Regions from separate parts of the Homo sapiens genome. Here all the other regions are linked to region 1. The links are contacts of gene promoters, found by promoter capture Hi-C in human tissues and cell types (Jung and others, 2019). All regions are on one chromosome and are shown on one strand. Each heading gives the region's core, a stretch centred on a gene start or on the middle of the fragment in contact. The rest is flanking DNA. Distances are from core to core; before and after follow the strand shown.

Evidence for each region. The method cuts DNA at HindIII sites, captures the fragments that hold promoters and counts their contacts. A contact is called where the count stands out against the background at its distance.
Region 2: a fragment that was not itself captured here is called in contact with the fragment with the promoter of TM9SF3 in region 1 in 1 of the 25 tissues and cell types used here (hippocampus).
Region 3: a fragment that was not itself captured here is called in contact with the fragment with the promoter of TM9SF3 in region 1 in 1 of the 25 tissues and cell types used here (lymphoblastoid cells).

Annotation. Positions count from the first base shown.
Region 1 is chr10:96,585,745-96,588,444 of GRCh38, forward strand. It overlaps TM9SF3 (transmembrane 9 superfamily member 3), which reads right to left and starts at 1,268. Exons shown (of 15, transcript NM_020123.4): 1 at 990-1,268. The coding sequence starts at 1,091. It overlaps LOC105378443 (a long non-coding RNA gene), which reads left to right and starts at 1,320. Exons shown (of 3, transcript XR_946220.4): 1 at 1,320-2,599. RefSeq lists a silencer at 928-1,497 and an enhancer at 2,376-2,435. The HindIII fragment of the contact is 5,763 bases long and covers 1-2,700 here.
Region 2 is chr10:96,948,359-96,951,173 of GRCh38, forward strand. LCOR (ligand dependent nuclear receptor corepressor) reads left to right here. Exons shown (of 8, transcript NM_001346516.2): 6 at 650-937. The coding sequence starts at 700. Among named protein-coding and RNA genes, the nearest start is that of LCOR, 120 kb to the left of the region's middle. The HindIII fragment of the contact is 5,356 bases long and covers 1-2,815 here.
Region 3 is chr10:96,987,839-96,990,761 of GRCh38, forward strand. It overlaps LCOR (ligand dependent nuclear receptor corepressor), which reads left to right. Exons shown (of 8, transcript NM_001346516.2): 8 at 1-2,923. Among named protein-coding and RNA genes, the nearest start is that of SLIT1-AS1, 110 kb to the right of the region's middle. The HindIII fragment of the contact is 6,513 bases long and covers 1-2,923 here.

The DNA of each region.
Region 1 (2,700 bases), core at 18-2,517:
GTACAAACACAGTCTCTCATAGAAACTCCTATCATTAATGGTAAAGGTATAAAAAACAATTACTCGTCAAGCAAACTCTCAATTTACCTGACCTTCCTGCCTTGCTCAAGTCTACCACTCTGAAAACCACAGTTACAGCCCTAAGTGAAAGCCATTTGAAGAGTCGTTCACATGCACGTTTTGATGTGAGAATACCAATTAAACAAACTGCCAATCACCTTTAGGCCAAATGCAAAAGGGACTGTTTCTGGCCCTGACCTGAAGACTGGGAAACGTCAAGACCCTTTACTGTCAGAAGCTGCCTTAGTTAGAGACTATCGGGATGGGGGTCTCACTTAGGGGCTGGAAGGTGAGGAGAAAGTTACAAGAAAGGCCTAGGAATTGAACGCGTGTAGGTTGGGTGCACTTACAAGTAAGTATAAACTGCTCTTCAATTCAAGTTTATTAATGCTGCCCCACCCCAGGGTTTTAATCCGGTCTGGGCAGAAGCGGGCGATAAAAGCCAAAGGAGACCATAAAGTGTAGGATATTTCCTGGTTAGTGGCTGCCGGGTAATCACGATGCATCCATCTTCCTCGGCGTCGCAGCCCTCAGTAGCCAGAAGGCAGTCTCCTTCCCTGGGGGGCAAAAGCCCCGAGCCCAGCCTGCCCGTTGCCCCGCTCCCGCGGTGGATGAACCTCAACCCTTCCCAGGCTCCTTCCTGGCCCCAGGGTCCCAGGAACCCCGAGACCCTGGGGTGCGGCGCCACTGAGGCCCAGACCGGGGGAAGGAGACCCTGTCACTCGGGAGCGGAGCCCTGTCCCGGGAGCGCACGGAAATGCCTCCTCCACGCTCCCAAGGTTCCTGCTCCGCCAGGCCCAACCGGAAGGAGTCCTCGGGCCGCAGTGGGGCACCACCGGGCCGCCGGGCACTCCAGGCTGCGTGGGGCCTGCCTCAGTGGGCAACTGGGGAGCTAGCCCGGGGCGGCCGCGCCGGCCGGGGCGCCTCACCGTGTGTTCGTGCTCGTCCGCCCGGGTCCGGGGCAGCAGCAGCAGCAGCAGCCACAGCGCGGCGGCCGCCGCCACGCCAAGAGCGCCAGGCAGCGGCCTCATCCTCCGCGCCCCTCCGGCCCGGAGCCGGCTCACCGACTCCTCCTCCCGCCGCCGCCTCCTCCGCCGCCGCCGCCTCCGCCGCGGCCGATTCGCATCCACGGGGCGCGGACAGACGCACGGGGCCCGGCCCAGCCGCTGCCTCCTCTGCCGCCGCCGTCGCCGTCACCGCCCGCTCCTGAGCCTCCCCCGCCCCCCGCGCCTCCTCAGCCTCTTCCTCTGACTCAGCCACGTCATCCGGCCACCCCGGCACGCGCCGGAAGTGCCTCGCGACGCGGGGCCGCCACCGCCGCCGGGCCGAGGGAGGGCCCGGCAACCGCCGCCTGCGCGCCGGCTGCCCCTCGGCTCCTGGGAGCCGCGGCGCTACGGGCCTGCCGAGCACTCGGGCGGGCGCCGAGCAGGCTGGGCCCCGGCGCAGTGGCCTAGCCTGGACCGCAAGGCCGAAGCCGCCTCCGGGCCGCGTCCCGGTGTTTCGGGTTGTGTAACCTTGGCCAAAATGCTTAAGCTTTTTTCCTGGCTGCCAAATGGGGCCGATCGTCTGACCTGCTGCCTCCGGAACTTGAGGGATCAGATCAAATAACCCTTTCCTGGCGCTCGTCTGCCGCTGTGAATGAATCACGGGCTCCTGTAATCACCGTTAGGAGAGATTGTTAAACTCGTACAGGGTTGGATGTTTTAAAGTTACTGAATATTTACTGGACCCCTACTGTTCAATCAAGACATGCTAAGTTAGCTTGCCATTCTTGTTCATTTATGTGTTTACTTAACTATTTCTGGGTCTCCTCTTCCCAGTCATAAATATCTCTTGGAGTGTAAGCTCCTCGGAGCAGAGATCCTGTTTCCGTATTTCCTGTACCTAGAACAGTGCCAGATCCGTAGTAGACACTGAAACAAAAAATCTTTAAAAAAAAAAAAATATACGAATGTGGCACCACCATTTACACAGGCCACTAAGCCAAAAATCTCGAACTTGTCAGATTGTCTCTTCTCAGCCATCAGCAGTCAACAAGTTCTAGCATTTGGTCTCTTAAAAGTGGTTCAAGAGTTTATTTTTCCTCTCCTTCCTCTGCCAGTACCAACCAGTCTTCCGTATCACTATGTATTGCAAGAGTCTCACAAGAAGATATCCATCACTGACTGATCTTCCTCCCGTTTAACATCCCCAACAGGTGCCAGGGTGATGTTTTTTTTATTCTAAAAAGAAACCAGATTATATCGCTCACTCCCTTGCTTAAAACAGTTCTTCAATGTTAGGTAAATAAATCATGGAGTCACCACGAGGGCGTTCATCTGCCAGGCACTATTCTGAACGATATTGGCTCATTAAATTCTCACAGAAACCCTATGCAGCAGGTACGGTGAAAATGTTCCTGTTACAGATGAGGTAACTGAAGCACAGAGAGCTTGAGTGGCTTGCTGAAACACCAGACCCACTCAGTCTGGCTCCATAATAGGTCTTTTTGCTGGTAATGATTTACCAACTATACAGCCACTTTAAAAAAAGGAAATAGGTAAGTACTGGCATGGAATGATAACCAAGAGGTTCTGTTAAATTTTCAAGTTGAAGAAAATAAGAGTTTAACTTCATTTTATATGGCAATATGTTAGTCTG
Region 2 (2,815 bases), core at 271-2,770, 360 kb after region 1:
TCTAAGAACTTGTTAGAATGCCAGTTCTTGAGCCCACCCTAGAACTACTGAATCAGAAACTCTGGGGAGAGAACCCAACAAGCTGTTTTTGCAAAGCTGTCAGGGTGATTCTGATGAACATTAAAGTGTGAGAATGATTGCCCTAGCCTAAAATGGATCTTAAAATTAAGTATCTCCTTTTATAATCTTGGTATGCCTTCTGTCTTTAATATAAAGTAAATTAAGCACTCATGAACTCAGTAATGCATTCTTCAAATATTTAGGAGAAGGTGGCTGAGGAAAAAGTCTAGGGTTACTTGATGTGACCTATAGGTGTGTTAACATGAGAGTATTTCCTAAGTGAAGGGTTTTGGGATTTCTGTATCAGGTAAGTGATTCTTGCCCATAAGATATTCTAGTTGTTATCCCTTTATTTAATTTCATAATATTCAATTATTATATGGGGGAAGATGTTTAGAATTATTTTAATAAAAATTTTATTTTTAAAAATAGACAACTCAAAAGCTTAGAAAACATAAGTCAAAGGGGAGATACTATTTTTAAGATAACTGCATTTTAAGAAAAATAAAATGAAATTTTATGTTTACTTGAAAGCTGTCTTTTTTAGTACATTGTCCCACTTTAAAAGTAAATAAATCTTTATTTACAGACAGTCCCTGGGTCTCCGACCCCAATATTCCCCTAGTGGCCCGTGAGATCATGCAGCGAATGATCCAACAATTTGCTGCTGAATATACCTCAAAAAATAGCTCTACTCAGGACCCCAGCCAGCCCAATAGCACAAAGAACCAAAGCCTGCCGAAAGCATCTCCAGTCACCACCTCTCCCACGGCTGCAACTACTCAGAACCCTGTGCTCAGCAAACTTCTCATGGCTGACCAAGACTCACCTCTGGACCTTACTGTCAGAAAGTCTCAGTCAGAACCTAGCGAACAAGGTATGGTTTGATGTCAAGGTCTCCTCTATCTTATCAGAATACTTTACTTTGGGGAGAAAAAAAAAAGCATTGGCAAGTAGAGCATCAGCAGCAATAATAGCATAAAAACTAATGTGATTCTTAAATTATTTCTTACTATGCAGTGATGGAGAAGTACAGCTAAAGTTGTTACAGCCTTATCTGTCAGCAGTTCATAGTCATGATTGATGTACCACTCAGGAAAGTCAGGTGGTTAACAGTTGTCACTAATCTTTCAGTTACTTGATATTTATATAAGCATTTTATATTTTCCATAGTATTTTTATGTTTTTTAAAACTCCTATGAAAAAGTAAGTTTTCTTATTAACTAAAAATTTTCTAGGACTAGCACCTGTCTGAGAAATATGCCTCTACTTGCAGGTATAAGTTATATACTCTGCAAATGAGATCATAAGGAAAAACATGTATTCGAATTTTGAGAAAGAAACTGCTAGGGTTACAAATAGAGAAAGCAGCAGAACATACTTTAGGTTGTTAAATATATTCAATGTTTTATAAATACAGAAACACATATATAAACACACACATCCACTGACTAACTTGAAAGTATTTCCAAAAGGGAATTTGTTGATGAGGACACTAATTAAGTGATGAAGTTAAGAGGTTATTAGTTTTGTTTAGCAAATGTTTCTTGAGTCTCTGAAGTTTATTTTCTTCAGTAGATATTCCTGTTGCTTTGTGATCTCATTTTACCTTTAATTTCACAAAAATTGAAGCAAGCATTTCAACTCAGCCACTGTTTGAACCACTACGAATTGTAAATTGGTGATGTCTGTACTAATGAGATTTTATTGTCATAGAAATCTTGAGTATACAGAAAGGTTACGAGATTTATTGTAACCTTTATTTATTGGATTTATTGGTGAGAAATACATGTTTATTTTGGAAAATAAATTTAATTCTTAACCTCTTTGAAATGAACTTTCTTTTGAGTAGTTTTCCTTTGCTTTTATCCTTTTCCTGTGTGGTGAACAGCAAACAAAACATCTGAGTTCTGAGAGATTTCTTGACAGGAGACCTCCTACTTGTTCACATTGCTCATGTTCCTTTGGTTACCATATTTACAAAGTTGTATCTTTTATTGATGACTGTTTTCTTTTCCACAAATTGGTAGTTTTCATTAAAGATCTCCTCACTCTAAATATTGCATCAGAAGTTTCAGGTTTATATTAGGAGAATGACAACATAGAATAATATTTAAAGTATTAATGGAGGTTAACATAAAATGATACCACTTAATCTAATTTAACTTGTTATAACTAATGTTACACTTAAGAGATCAATACATTGTATTGACAGCATGCTCTTAAAAAGAGGAATTTGAACTACATGATAGCATTATAGTGTGTAGACTTCAAATGAAGTAAAAAAATTTTAAATTATATTTCCTTAATGAATGTGTTTTCAGCCAAAAACCACAATATTTTTAGTGGTAGATTTAAAATATGTTGCCTGTTTGATTAGACAAATTGTCTATTTGACTTGCGTTTAAATAATAGTGTCTTTGGTTGGAAAAGTTGTAAGCAGTAGTACATTTGCTTCTTAGATGTATAATTGGGTTAGATGTCTAATAGGATAATTGGTTCTATAAGCTTATAATTATATTTTTAGAAGTACTAGTGACTGTAAAGGACAAAACTCTTTCTTATGAGTGTGGGGTTTTTTTATTTACAAACTCTGTTGCCTGTTTATTTCTAACAGCCGGAAATAAAATGTCCTCAGATACAAGTTGTAAGTAGCTTCTACTCTGGGGTGATTTTTAACACAACTAGATAGCACGACCCCTCTACTGGCCAACTGAAAATTAAAGACATTGTGTATTATCTTGTTCTGTTAATT
Region 3 (2,923 bases), core at 284-2,783, 400 kb after region 1:
TCAAGTCTGCTATTGTTTTCCCTACCTTGCAAAAACCTTCTTCCCAGAGCCATCTTCAAGAATGGCTTACCACACCAGATGCAAAAGCAGTCCATCCCACATTCCGATCCAAATCAGAAAGGAATTCTCCTGGGTGTACACTCAGTGAAATGACTGTTCCAGTCTTGGGGCTGAAGTTGATGACCAAAGGACACTGGTATTCTCTGAGTTTCTGGAGAAGCTGGAAGATGCCTGGGAAGCAATCACTGAAGCTCTGCCATAGCTCCCGTAGAGGAGGGCCCTCTTCAGGACACCCATCTTCTATCCTACGAGACTCCCTGCTATAGATGGACATGCAGGAGACCACTCCCTCACTTGGGGTCCTGAGCCTCACCCCTAGCACTTCCTCAGACAGGTAACAATCTTGCAGCACAGCAGGAAGGTTGTGAACCTTTATTCTGCTCCTGAGGCTTCCTTCATAGGAATGCTGTCAGTTTCTGTAAGTCACCAGTCACTAGCCCCTTGGATTCCTTGTTAAAGACTTCTGTGCAGCCTTATCTAAAATGATAATCTTAGGCTGTGAGTCTCCTGCTGTATTGTTCCTAAAATCGTATGGATAGAAGAGGTGCCCTTAGTCATCCCTTTACATATGTGGTGCTTTCTAATGGGATCTCTATGCATCACATACTATGCAGGTGAATTTCTCACTGTTCAGATAGGTCATCAGTAAAAGGCATCACTTCAAGATAATTACTTTGAATTGAGGTTTGGCCTCTTTTCCTGCTTTGTAATGGGTTCGGTCATGAGGGTGGGAGCTGTCATTCACATTTATGGGCAGCATTCCTGTTGATTAGTGGACCTAAGAGCCAAGTAGGAAAATATAGCATGCTATGTGATACAAGCTGGAGATGCTGTAGTGTTACTATCAGCAAGTTCTGTGCAGACTGCCTTTCGGATTCCAGATGATCTGTCAAGGGTCTGCCAACTGTGGGCTGGTCGCTTGTTTGTGTAAATAAAATGTGTTTGGAATATAGCCACACCCATTTTCTTAAGTTCTGTCTGCGGCTGCTTTCGCACTGCAAGAGCAGAGTTGAGTAGCTGCGGCAGAGACCCGTGTGGCCCTTACAGCCTAAGATACTATCTGGACCTTCAGAAAACATCTGCTGATCCCTGCTTGAGAAAGTCATCCTTTTCAGGAACAAATATTCTTGATTTTCCTTCTCTCTTCTGCCCTTTTCTCTCTGTTCTTCTTTACTTCTCATTTTCCTTGTCTCCATTTTTTCTTTTCAAAGGAGACATGTTATATCGATATGCACTACTATCCCCTTAAACTTGAGCAACCTTAGCATTCCATCTTCTTAAAAAAAACCATCACAGTAGCCAAAATGAGGCCACCTTACCGTATCGAGCCGGAACCCATGAGCAAATAGGGATTCAGAGTTCTAAAATTATGTGGCCTGGGCCTCTCATTTCACTCACACAGAACTGACTCTGGCTTTATTTCTTGTTTATTAAAGTAAGCCAAGATTTTGTTTCTGGTAAAATTAGTTGAGACTACTTTAGTTGGACTTTTAGTCCTCTGAATGTCACATTTAGATATGGAAAATGTTTTTTCACAGAGTAGAAACAAAGTCTGATCACAATCCCAAAGCTTTGTTTATTCTTATATAATATTTTGGTACTGATACCTTTTCAGCCACATACTTTCAAAATAATTTTATTAAAGGTAAGCCAACAAATAAAACATAGAGGCTTTTGAAGTGCTTTAATATTGATTTAAAAAATTGGAGTTATAACCAGAGTATGACTGAAAAGCTATTATAGTCTTCCTCCTTTTCCAAAAACTCAAGGATAAGGATATATATATATATATATATATTTTTTTTTTTTTTTTTTTTTTTTAATAGAGACGAGGTTACGCTATGTTGCCGAGGCTGATCTGAAACTCCTGGCCTCAAGCAGTGCTCCCACCTCAGCCTCCCAAAGTGCTGGGATTACAAGTGAGCCACCGCACCAACCCAAGTATGAGTTTCTATGCTGGTTTTTTTTTAATGTGATTCAATGTCCTGTCAGTGAAAAATTTTTGTCAGTGGCCCCAAATCACTGATCGTTTTAGTTGTTTTGAAACAATTATCATTTTGAATTCTTAGTATTACTTTGATGTCTTATTGTGACTTGATATCCACTGAAATACTGGAATTTTTTTTAAGTATAAAATTGATCTGTGTAAGGCGGTCTTCATATCCTAGCAGTAAGTGCTATTCCCCATGCTTGCTCTCAAATCCTTTTCAGGGGAAAAATAAAAAGATTATTGTATTTAAAACGAGCAGAATTGTGGGAGGGCCTTCCCCTCCCCCTGCCCAGCCCCCAGACAGGGTCTCACTCTGTCGCCCCAGGCTGGAGTGCAATGGGCATATGGTCTTATCTATTAGGGTATGTAGTTTAAAAGTACAGTTTTTTGAAAGTATAGTCATCTTCATTTTTATGACGCCCACTGCAGGCTCAAAGAGATTTTCACACCTCAGCCTCCTGAGTAGCTGGGACTACAGGTGCATGCCACCACACCCAGTTAATTTTTTTTTTTTTTCCAGTTTTAGCAGAAATGAGGTCTCACTGTGTTGCCCAGACTGGGAAGTCTTTTGAGGCAGCCTTCAATATAATTCATCCTTTGAAACATCAGAACAGAGTCCTGTATTCTACAATGGATGGATTGGAAGACTTGAGGATCCAGTCTCTTTCCTTTATAGATAATTAGACTCAGGCAGAAACTCAGAGCTCTCAGGGCTTTGCTGTGCTGTGCTGTGTCATGCCGTCCTGGGGCCCGGGGAACCACCCTGAGCACTTTGTGGAGTGTGTCCTTGCTCAGGCTTTTGCCTTGGGATTGAACCGAAGCTGCTCAGTTCCTTCCACTTACCTCCTCTCTGTCTGATCTTCCTTTTCCCAG